Linked DNA regions of Homo sapiens: region 1 is linked to region 2. Evidence: promoter capture Hi-C in 16 types of primary human blood cells and fetal thymus (Javierre and others, 2016). All regions are on one chromosome and are shown on one strand. The core of a region is centred on a gene start or on the middle of the fragment in contact, and the rest is flanking DNA. Distances in the headings are between cores, read along the strand shown.

Region 1 (6,050 bases), core at 2,691-5,190, 120 kb before region 2:
TAAATCAAGATAATTATCCATTACCTCACATACGTTTCTTTTTGTAGTGAGAACGTTTAAAATCTACTCTCATAGCAATTTTCAAGTATACAATACATTGTATTAATTACAGTCACCATGTTTTACAATAGATCTCCTGAACCGAACTTATTCCTCCTGTCTAACTAAAATTTTGTGTGCTTTGACCAACATTTCCCCAACCCGTAACGTTTGGTAACCTCTGTTCTCCTCTCTGCTTCTATAAGTTTGATATACTTAGATTCCATATACAAGTGAGATGATGTAGTGTTTGCATTTCTGTGCCTGTTTTTTTTTGTTGTTGTTGTTGTTTTGTTTTGTTTTTTGCTTACCCTAATGTTCCTTGGGTTCACCCATGTTTTCACAAACAGCATGACTTCCTTATTGTTAAAGGCTGAATAGTAGTGTGTTTCTTGAACAGAGAACACATGGTGACAGAATGGGTGTCCCCAGTAGGTGGCTGAATCAAGGCCTTGAAAATACTGGGTGCTTGTATAACCTTCAGTGTACCCTGGATATCTAGTGTTAGCTGTATATTTAGTATATCATAAGTATCTTGTGCCCAGGTGTCTTGTTTATTTCAGGCCTCATGAATATAGTTATCTCTTTGTCCTCCCATTTCTTAACCTATGTATGATATACTTATTAATTTCCATGAATACATAACACATGACTTTCATACATCCACTTCCCATTCATTTTCTTGCTCTCTATAGAGGAAATAAATATTCTCAAATTATACAAAAAATGCATATTACATATGGCTTTCTTGGAGCCCTTTCTAGAGATTGTAGAACACTTCAAAACTTTAGGCATATCAAAATCTGTTTCTAGCTTCCTTGAAAAGAGAAAAAGTGTCTACAGGTGACAAGGAAAATCCTGCAGATACTTGTATTCAAAGGAAGTCTGAAAAAGTCTGATTGGATAAAAAATAACGGAAAAAGGCATGTAAAAGTATCTTCAGTTCTGCTTTGCTTGGATGAGGCACCTTCCAGAGAAGTTAGCCGTTAGGGTGTGTGTGTGTGTGTGTGTGTGTGTGTAAGGGATATAGTCCTTATGACCTCTGCTTTTGGTTTGGCATTAGAGGGGGCTACTTCGCAGGAGACATCTGGTTGTGGGAAGCAGGGTGGCGAGGCTGGCGCTGAAGTCCCAGACTTGGTCTTCCCTGGCCGGGCTCCAGCGCCGTCTGCTCCGCAAAGGCATCTATGCCGAGCGTGTCGGGGCCAGAGCGCAGGTGTACCTGGCGGCCGTGCTGGAGCACCTGACCGCCGAGATCCTGGAGCTGGCTGGCAACCCGGCCCGCGACAAGAAGACCCGCATCATCCTGCGCCACCTGTAGCTGGCCATTCGCAACGGCGAGGAGCTTAACAAGCTGCTGGGCGAAGTCACCATCGCGCAGGGCGGTGTCCTGCCCAACATTCAGGGCGTGCTTCTGCCCCAGAAGACCAAGAGCCACCACAAGGCCAAGGGCAAGTAACGTCCCCAGATAATAAAGCCCAGCAGAGCAGATGACCTACTTTTCGAGGGGAAAGAAAAAGTAAAACCAAAAGCCAGCCACGAGTTCAAGTAAAAGCATAGGCAGATAATGCCCAAGAGTATTTCAACAAAGTCTCTCCATTCCTTTCATTCATTACCCTGATACTCTCCACTTTGTTTTCTTTACCAATATTATGTCACATTGGTTTCCTGAAAGCTGAGTTTAGCACTGGATTTCAATGCAAGCTGTATTAGGTTGGTGCAAAAGTAATCGCGGTTTTTGCCATTATTTTAACGCGCGCGCGCGTGTGTGTGTGTGTGTAAGGGATATAGTCTTTATGACCTCTGCTTTTGGTTTGGCATTAGAGGGCACTACTTTGCATGGGACATCTGGTTGTGGGAAGCCATTACTTTTAATGGCAAAAACCGCGATTACTTTTGCATTAACCTAATAATTTTGTGAAAGAGATTTTTATGTGGTATCCAGAAAAGCACTTATAAAACAGTTTTGTTCATGTGGGCTGTTTTATTTGCCATCAAGTTATAATGAATTTGTCAACTGATGATTAATTTCTTCAAGCCTAAGGGACATGCTTTAGTGCTTTTTATTTGGCATGTTTAAGATTGTATTTAGCCTTTAGATATTTTACTATAGGGAGGTATGTATGTGCCAATTGGTTGAAGGTTTCACTCTGTGGGCTGTCAGCTTTCCCAAGAGGTCTCATTCTAGGGTGGTCAGCCAGGCTGATGTAAAAGAGGGTTACAGGCCAAAGGACGCTCCTGTAATGGCCTCTATCAGCCACATTTCTGCCAAAGCTGGACTCTGCAGAGTCCAGATCTGGAGAGTTCAGTAAGGTCTGTAACCTGTAGTTTTATGGAGGATACCCTAGGCTTCATTTCTAGATAAGCTTGTGTCCAAAGCATTGGTTTAGATTGATTTCCTTTTGCCTGATACTAACTCTAAGGGTAACAAAATCCTGTCTCTGGAATGGTGTTGCATCTGCTAGGAATGAACATTTGGCGCAATCTGATGGTTAGATGGTTTCATAAATATCTGTACATATGGCAGATGTTAGTCTAAAATTTACTTTTATTAAACCTAACTTTAGATCACCTTAAGTTTCTTTGATGGCTACCATTGTCTAACAACTAGAAGCTTACGTCAGTTCCCAGACTGGACTGTGGAATAGAGTTTGACCTAGAGTAAAGAAAGAAGCATGCGTACAAAACACAACCTTTGACTTTGGAGTCCAGAGGAGAAATAGATGTAGCTGCCCAATAAACCCACAGGGTAATGAAAAGTGAAGCAATTACATGGTTGAACAATTATCTTCTAGGCCGTCCTTTTTGAAAGTCCAACCAAAAGCATTATGTCTGGGAATCAGAGGCATTATCAATAGAAATAAAATACATAAAACGTGCAGTAAAGAGAAGAATTTTAACCCTTTTGGAGTATGACTGACCTAGAGTAAAAAATATACATTTTTAAAGTGTGCTGCAATACTAATATATAGGCTTATATGTAAACACATGTGTTGCAGCATCGAAAGTTTCACAAAATAATCCTGACTCTTACTAAGTGGGATGCACTATGATCTGTTCCATTCTATTTGGGCCTCATCCATCTTGTTTAAAAAACCATAGTGGCTAAATTGATAAGAGGTGCTAAATTGATAAGAGTAATGACCTGTAGGTTGAAAATCATTGGGATGATGGGAGTGACCAATCAGACAACTTGGCACTGCACCCACAAGGCTGCAACAATTGGTTCAAATGGTAATAAAGTACTCTGGGCTGGGCCAATAAGAGCCTCTCCTAGGTTTTGAACACAGCTGCTTTTTCTTCGCTTTCATGGATGTGATGAATGAGACTCCAAAACTGCCAACAGACTTGTCTGTTGCCTCTTGGAGTAGATTTAAGAGAAGGGAGAAGGTGCAAAAGAACAGCTGAAATAAGAGTTCCAAAGGTCTTCATTTATTTTGGGGCAGAGATTTAATTCCAGTCTCTGGTCCCTGGAACTGTGCTTGTTACAGCTGCTCATTCTTATATTCTGTGACCTACCTCAGTCTCCATATTTTCTTTTTCTCTTTCTTTCTCTTCCAAAGCCATTTCAGTTGGACTTCTATCACTTGTAAGCACAGGTGTCTGACAAATAGAAGCCACAACTGAGTACAATAAAAACTAAACTCTGCAATACAAAGGCCAATAAATAGGTTTGGCCCTTAATCCTCTCTTGTAACAACATTGACATGATCTTGCTCCTCATCCTGGTTTAGCACCAAGAGAAAAATAAGAGTCTGAGTGGGAGAGGGAGGAATCAAAAGGAACTGAGCCAAATTAAGAGCTTTTGGTGTAAATGTTGGAAGCTGAGAAAAGCCATGTCAAGCCGCAGCAAACTCCCCTTCATAAAGGAGGCAGAGGGAAAAAATAAAATAAAAAAGAGGAGAATAAGAGAGAAATTACCCTTTTCATTTTTCTCCAAGCTAAGACTTGCAATCTAGCTACACTTTAAGTGATTGATGTGGTCACTAGGGGCTAAGAAATAAAAATGTTTCAGGTAAGAACATGGAGCTCCCAGATTCAAAATGCCAGCACCTCATACACCCATCCCGGCAGCACAACCAACATTCACCCTCATCTGCTAAGACAAGTTCTCAGAATCAGAAAGTTCATTAACCTGAACTTCAGTAGTAAATAACATTTAAGTTTTGGAAAGGTATTCTTCTATTTGGCAATTCAACACCATCGCTTGTAACAAAAACCAATAGACAAGTACAACTCAACATCCTCAAGACAGAGCACCAAAATTAACAGAAAAACTAGAACCCCTCTCCAAACTAGAAGAATGTTAGTATAAATATTTAACATAAATAAATGAATAATATCAGAAATATATGCTGACATACTTAAAACAAAAATTAGATATGTGAAAAGGAAGGTTTTCTTAGAAATGACAAATATCCTTAGAATTAGGGAAGAAGGAAAGAAATAAGAAAGGAAGGGAAAGAGGAAGGAAAGAATAAGAAAAAAATGAAGCAGGGAAGAAGGAAGGAAAGGAGAGAAGGAGGGAAGGAGGGAGGAAGGAAGAAGGAAAGAAGGAAGGAAGGAAGGGAAGGAAGGTAGGCAGGTGATCTCAGGAATTTGGAAGAAAATTGATACAGGTGAAATTCACAGTAATGCCAAGATACAAAAGGAAGAATAATGAGAGGGAAATTTTATAGGAAACTGATGTTGAAAGTTGGTTTCAATGTTTGCGTAACAGATGAAATAGTCTGGAGGGTAAGAGAATGGACACAACAGCCAGACTTTCTGGGTGGTTGGATTCCTGACTCCGTAGCTTACTAGCAAGTTACTTAACCTCTCTGTAAACTGGCATAATAATAGTACCTACCATAGAAGTTTGCTATGAGAAGTAAAAGTGTTATTGTATGTAAAGTGCTTAGAATAGTGTTCAGCACGTATTTAGTGTTAAATAGGCCTTATTACAAGGAGTCTCTGAAAAGGGGGTGAGGGGCAGAGTAGAAGAATGATTACAAAGAAAGAGATAACCACCATCTTTATTTGAGGATATATTTAGTAAATTAAATTATATGGAAAATTATTTTGGAATATTGGTTGGAATGGCATATGGATTAGTCTGGAGAGACGAGATTTTTACATTTTTGAATGTTCCTGTTCATAAAAATGTTATGTCTCTTTATTTAGTTCGACTTCAATACCTTACAATAAAGCTTTACAATTTTCTGCGTAACGATCTTCTACATCTTTTATTAGATTTATTCCTAGGTTTTATATCCTTTTGTGGCTGTTACATTCTTTTATTGCCATTGTGAATTGTATCTCTTTTTATAATATCTTTTTTTTTGTTTTGGGCTGGTAATTAAAATGCAGTCAGTCTTTGAATATCACTTTTCCATCTGTCAAATTTGCCAAACTCACATTAGTTAAGTAATTTATGTACAGATTTTTTTTGTTTTCTTATGTAGACAATCATATCATCTGTTAATAATCATAGTTTTACTTGTTTTCTAATTGCTTCACATTTCTTTCTTGTGTTATTGTGCTAGTTAGGCCTTCCAGTGAATAGATGTAGCAAACACCTCTTTTATGTATCTGATTGTAACAGGAAGATTCACCTTCGGAATGTTTGTTGTAGGTTTTACAGATGCTGTTTATTAAATACAGGGAATTTTATTTTATTCATTGTTTCTAGGGAATGCTATCCCTTTACATTTCTTTTTGGAATGCATACAGTAACAATATTTTTTGACTGATGGCTGACTGCCTCCAACTTTTTAATTAAATTATATTTGATTATTTTGAATGAATTTGATTTTTAATTGCTTTATTTCAATCATGAATATTAATCATGACGTCTCAGAGGTGGTCATAGAAATAATAATGGTAATGATAATTATGACAGATGACCTTCATTGATTGATTTTCTGTTATATGCAAAGTATGGTGGATGGTTTCATTTTGTTTCATGATTTATTCCTAATTTTTTTCAATGATCTCCAAGTGAGACTCAACAAAGTAAAATACATTTACTCTAA
Region 2 (6,677 bases), core at 366-2,865:
GAGCTGAAACGGGAACACTGAGAAGGAGACAGCGCTGAGCAAGAACAATTCCAGGCAGAGGAACCAGCAAGTTTGTCACGTTTTTCTAGGCAGAAGGTAGTCCAACATGGCGATGCAGAGTGAATGAGGAGGTTAATGGTAGGAGATGAGATCAAAGGGGTGGGCAGGATGGTCTCGATCTCCCAAAATGGCCAGACCATTTTGGGTCCTATAGGCCTGGTAAGGGGACTGGATCTACTATGGCCACTGTGTGGCACATGGGCTGTAAAGGACAAGATTGAGAACCAAGAGACTGAACAAGAAGTTGTTTCTTCACCTGTACAAGTGTTGATGGTGGATGGGCTAGGCTAGTTGTGGTGAAAAAGACCACATTCAGGACCTGTTTTGGAGATATGCCACTAAGACTTGCTAATGAGGTGTATATGGGAATGAGAGAAAGGGAAGAATCATCAGAGACTTCTAGACTTACGGCTTGAGCAAATGAGTGAATAGTGTTGCACTCAAAGAAGTTGGCGAAATGAGCAGGGAGGGCAACAGGTTCCAGAGGAAAAGCAAGAACTTTATTTTGGACACTTGGGGTTGAGACTCCTGTTAGACCCAGAAGGGAAGATTGACAGGTAAGTTTTGTGTCTGTGAGTCCATAGCTAAGAACAGAAGGGCCTTTGTAGAAATATAAATGTGTGAGTCATCAGCCTTATCTATTTATTTTGAAACCAGGTAAATGAGGAAAAAACAGCAAAGAAATGGAGCCAGCCATTCTTATATCAATTTCTCATCAGTTTTTCTTGCCAAGACTGCTTGTGTCTGTTCTTTTTGGATTCATATGCACCCTGTTCCTCTGCTAGTTATCAGTCCACTGTAGAATGAGACTTTTCCTTAAGGTGCTGGGCAGAGCTATTAACAGCTCAAATGTCATCTTAGGTGGTCTCAGCACTGAACATTTTTCCTCCTTATGAGAAACAGCCCATGGCTCTTATTCACAGTTTGCAAATAAAGTCCTCTGCCCTAAACTCTTCATCATTAACTACTTCCCAAAGCCATATTAGATTTCATTTATTTTGCTTTCCCATAAATTCGCTGGAACCAAACCAGAACCGTTTGGTTTTCATTAATTTTTTAGGCATGATGAAAATCTTCCTCTCTGAGAATTCAGTATTGGCATTTATTGTCTCACTGTGGATTTGATCAATGCTTAAAAAAATTAATGTACTTCACAAAAACAATCCAAATATATCATTTAGTTTCTGTCTCTTCCTCTCTCTCTTTCTTCCTCTGTGTGTGTGTGTGTGTGTGTGTGTGTGTGTGTGTATGTGTGTGTGTCTGTCTGTCTGTCTCTGTTCAGCTATACTTTTAGAAAATTTCATTCTCTTGAATTAATTCCCTGTAGTTCCAGGGCTCTTAATGCAACATCCCTTCTCACTTACCAGAATTATCTCAGGACACAGGCATTCTCTTCTCCACTCCCACAATCTCTGCCCCTAAACAGCAAATTAAGCTGCTCTCTAACAGAAACAGACCCATTCCCATCATCTCAAAAGCAGAATATTAAGGGTAAAAGTTTGAAAGCTAACTAACCTGAGGGAGGAAGAGTGCAGGATCCTCATTCCTTTCAAATAAATATTCTAAGCTCTTTGCAATTGTCTAATTCTGGGAGGTAAATAATTACCCAAAACCTTTAGCCCTTATGTTACCAGCTTGGAGAATTTTATTGGCCCAGTGGTTTAATTTTTAACTTTACATTTTATTGTTTGATTGATAATCAAATCAAGCTCATTAAATCTTCCTCATGCTTCAAGCCCAGCTGAGGTCACCTATGTCTTCCCTCATCCTTAATCAGAATCAATGTCCCTTCTTATAAGGATCCTGACACCCCACATGTTTCACTGACAGCACTATCCCCTTCTGGGGTCTCTCAGAGTTATTATAATCTTCATGGAGATGGGGTATATTTTGCCCCTTTTGAGTCCCTTTTCCACCATCCTGCTGTTTAATAGAACTGAGCTTTCCAAAGAGGAGAGACTTAATACATTTTGGTCGACTTGAGTGATTTTTATGGTTTTCTGATTGTAATTTTTTGCACAAAGGCCATTGAGTTTTCCATGAAAATTAACTCTGTGATTCTCCTCCCTTTTATGGCAAAACATTTCAGAAGACTCATACATATTTGCATTCTGGTTCCCCACCTCTAGTTTTCTCATGAATCCATCAGCAACAAGACAGCCCTTAGCAAAGCCATCACCAGCCTCTCTGCCAGCAAATCCAGTGGTCACATCCCAGGCCCCATCTGTCAGTGCTTGACAGATTCCACCACTCGTTCCTTCTTGATGCCTTGTTTCATTTAATTCATTCAGATCTGATTTTCCTCGTGTCTCATTGGTTGTTCCTTGTCAATACGTTTTGCTGAATCCTTATCTTTTCTCTGGTTTCTAATGTTGATATGCCTAAGACTCTGTCCTTGAACTTCCTCCCTATCTAAACTCACTCCCAAGGAGATCTCAGCCAGTCCCCTTTCCTTTCACACCCAATTCTGACCTCTTCTCTGAGCTTCGACTTCAACTTCATCCATCTCTCCTTGAGTACCCATTAGGTATCTCAGTCTTATGACTGCAAGCAGAACTGAATCTCCCTCCAACCCTACTCCTGGCCCAGGATCCCCCATCTTGGTTAATGGCATTACCATTTCCCTGTTAATCTTGCCAAAAAAAAGTCAGCCTTCATTCTATACTTTCCATCAACATTAATTCCAACAGTATGTTCTATCAGTTCCACCTTCATCTCTTTCCATTATTTTTTATTTTCTCCATTCCTATCACAATCATCTATCACCAGGGTAAATAAAATGATTATTTACCGGGCCCCACTGTTTCCATTCTCTCTCTTTTAATCCACCCCACATAGCAGGCAGAATGTTGGAAATGTACATATGATCATGTTACTTACTGGTGTAAAAGTCTTCCAAAGCCTTCCCAGAGAACCTAGGAGAAAAGAGAGCAAATTCACCTTCCTGAAGGTGCTCCAACACCTTACATCACCTTGGACACACCAACCTTACTGACCTCTGCCCTGCTGTCCTTCCCTCACTAAATTCCAACTAGTTCTGCCTTGTCCATGAAGTTCAAGGCCTTTACACTTGCAGTTCCTCCTGTCAGTGATGCCCAATTCCCCAAGATGATTGCCAAGTGTTTTACCAATGTTGTTAGAAAAGTAAAACACTTGAAAATAGATTTTCCAAGAAGCCTCTAATATGGTCTTGATTTTGTGTCAGCCTAGGCTAACTTGCATATTTGTGTCTTAGTTTTAATAAATCTTTTTTAATTTTTAAAAATTAAAAATAGATCAAAGCTTATAGAATAAGGGTATAAAGAAAATGTTTGGTGTTTTTTTTTTGTTTTTTTTTGTTTTTTTGAGACGGAGTCTCAGACTGTTGCCCAGGCTGGACTGCAGTGGCGTGATCTCGGCTCACTGCAAGCTCTGTCTCCCGGGTTCACGCCATTCTCCTGCCTCAGCCTCCCGAGTAGCTGGGACTACAGGCGCCTGCCACCACGCCCAGCTAATTTTTTGTATTTTTAGTAGAGACGGGGTTTCACTGTGTTAGCCAGGATGGTCTCGATCTCCTGACCTTGTGATCCGCCCACCTCAGCCTCGCAAAGTGCTGGGATTACAGGCGTGAGCCACCGCACCCGGCCTAAAGAAAATATTTTTGTACAGCAGTACAATATGTTTGTGTTTTAAGCTGTGATTACCAGAGTCAAAAAGTTTAAAAACATTTAAAAGTTTATAAAGTCAAAATGAAATAGTAAGCTAGAATTTATTATTGAAGAAATAAAATTTTTTTATAAACTTAGTGTAGCTTAAGTGCACAGTGTTTACAAAGTCTACAGCAGTGTACAGGCATGTCCTGGGCCTTCACATTCACTCACTGCCTCACCCAGAGTAACTTCCAGTCTCACAAGCTCCATTTATGATAAGTCTCCTAGACATACCATTTTTTATCTTTTTACTGTACCTTTTCTATGTTTAGATATGTTCAGATTCTCAGATATCACTGTTTTAATTGCCTGCAATATTCAGTATAGTAACATGTGGTACAGGTTTGTAGCCTAGGAGCAATGGGCTAGACCACATAACCTAGGTGTATAGCAAGCTCTACCATCTAGGTTTGTGTAACTGCACTCTATGGTATCCACACAACAAAACTGCCGCACAGCACATTTCTCAGAATGTATTCCTATGGTTAAGCGTCGCGTGTTTGTATTATAGCAAATATACAGCACATGCTCTGTGGGGAGAAGAAGCAGTAGATGAGTTTCTGTGGCCAGCATTATTAATTGGCTAAGCAAAACCACATTTCCAAATTTCTGTGCCCTAGCTTGTATCTACTATAAGGCATATAGGAACAAAAACTTCATTTCTGTGGCTTCCTTGAAACAAATGGGGCCTACACATTTCTGGCCATTGATGCATAAAAAGAAGTAGGCCTGTGTCTCATCTTTTTTTTTCTTTTTTCTTTTTCCTTCTGCCGTAACAGTGGATATCAGGTCTTGAGGTATGGCAAGTACCTGAGGCTCATTAGACAACAGCAAGATGAAAGCCAATAAACTGATGATGGCTCTATCAGTCAGGATAAGCTAAGTTACACTGGGATAACAAATGACCCAAAAATCTCAGTTGCTTATAATAACAAAGTTTTATGTGCTGTTCACAATTCATGACCATCGTGTCTTGGCTACAGCTTCTCACCATGTTTTCCTCACTTAGGGGCCCAGTTTGACAAATCAGGCTTTATTTGGAATATGGATGGTCTCATGGCAGAAGTAAAAGAGAAATTATGGTGAGCCAAGTGCTTGCTCTTACAGGTTTTGCCTAGGTGTCACTTCCACTCAAATTTCATTGGGCAAAGCAAGTCAGATGGCCAAGCCCAATAGAACCAAAATAGAGAAATACAATTCTTTCCAGGGCAGGGCCAGGGAAAATTTTTGAACAGTCATATAAGCTATCACTGTCCAAGCTTCAATTCAAAATTATTTAGTTAGTAAACTATCCTTTCTGCACACAAAATATACTTAATCCCTTCCTATGAAAAGCCAAGTCAAAGTCTCATTTAATTATAGCTTCAGGGCTGATGTTGACAATTTTATGATATTATCTCGTCAGGTTGAATATGACTTGTCTTGCTCCAGAAACTCATGAACTAACGAGACTAGGTGTCTGCTTCCCCTACACACCCATGCACACCCAATGTGTCATGCTAGGACACAGAAAAGATAATTGCAGACAGAATTGCACAGGAGTTTGTAGTTCAAAGAAATCTGAGATCATGTGGGTAGCTATTTCAGTCTTCCTCCTATCTCCGCATATGTGATAATCCCTAATTAATCTGTGGCTGTGCATGCCATGAGTAATTCCCCTAGGATATTATTTTTCACAGGTCTTGGCTCCATGCTCTGGCCAGTCCTTCCTTTTCCAATATCTCCTTTGACCATATTTGAATAGTCCTTGCAGACTGGGCAGAATACTAGGCCCATTGCTGACAAAAAAAATTTTTTTAAAATACGACACCCCCCTCCCCCCACACACACAAGTGACATAACCCTTGATAAGTCACAGTCTCCTTTATCCAGGTTGGTAGTTCTGTGGTATTATGTCACTCAAAATCATAACCAGTTTCCTATACAAGTGCTTCTCCTTCCCTCCTTTCTCTCTCTCTCTCTCTCTCTCTCTCTGACATGGGTTACTTTGAGCCTACCAGGCTTCAATAGAAAAGCCATAACCTTTGCTTCATTATTTTTATGAATGGTTACCACCTTGATTTGATACTTGCACAAGACCAAGCTTTAAAAGGACTTTCTTACTTAAATCATTTCTCAGTTTTATCTTTAACTGTTGGGAGTTGAGAAATAGTATCTTTCAACTCAGTAAGTCTACAGTTTTTAGTTTCTCTCAATTTCCTTCATTCTGATTTTCAAACCAGCTAATTACTTTTTCAGATTATGTCTTGTTTTATTATACTTTGTGAAATATAGTCAATAGTAAATCACATGATTTACATTAACTATGCCAAGAACTTCACCAAAAATAATAAGCTCAATAGGGAAATTACCTATAAATTCATTTCTAAAGTTTTCTAAATGTTTCACCTATGCAAATTAAGTACTACTGCCCTTCTAAACTCTAATAACAGCTTCTTTTCTGCTCCTATCCCATCCCTGAAGCCAATGCCCCAAAAAAGGCGGTGCTTTGTTTTATTTTGTTTTTAATCTATGGCAACACCCTATGCTACGCCTTGCACTAATTTCTGTGTTGGTTAGGAAAGGAGAAGTTAGGCTGTGGTAAGAGATGAAGCCTTAATTAGTGGCATACAATGTAATTTTATTTCCTGCTTCAAGATACATGTCTAGCACAGGCCAGCAGCAGCTGTGATCCACATCATCTTCATGTTGGGACCAGGCTTATAGGCAGCTTCCATCTGAAACATTACAGCCAGTCTCATGGCACAGAAAAGAGAGAATATATGGAGAAACTTATGGCTGGAAACATGTTATTTCTAATTAAATTGAATTGATCAAAGTAAGTCACATGATCCAGATGGATATTAATGCAGCCAAGAAGTATGAAGAAGGCAGCAAGTATCTGTGAACAATAATATATTCTACCATGGGGTCGAGTAGAAAAATAAA

What was found. Contacts are between HindIII fragments. The CHiCAGO score rates a contact against its expected background, and 5 or more counts as called.
Region 1: a fragment that was not itself captured here is called in contact with the fragment with the promoter of SLC17A4 in region 2 in 2 of 17 cell types (megakaryocytes and M2 macrophages); the score reaches 5.8 in megakaryocytes.

The regions. Positions count from the first base shown.
Region 1 is chr6:25,877,471-25,883,520 of GRCh38, reverse strand. It overlaps the pseudogene H2AC3P. Among named protein-coding and RNA genes, the nearest start is that of SLC17A3, 6.3 kb to the right of the region's middle. RefSeq lists an enhancer at 774-1,288. The HindIII fragment of the contact is 2,575 bases long and covers 2,653-5,227 here.
Region 2 is chr6:25,749,680-25,756,356 of GRCh38, reverse strand. It overlaps SLC17A4 (solute carrier family 17 member 4), which reads right to left and starts at 1,615. Exons shown (of 12, transcript NM_005495.3): 1 at 1,576-1,615. It also overlaps a transcript of SLC17A1 not described here. The HindIII fragment of the contact is 7,086 bases long and covers 1-3,344 here.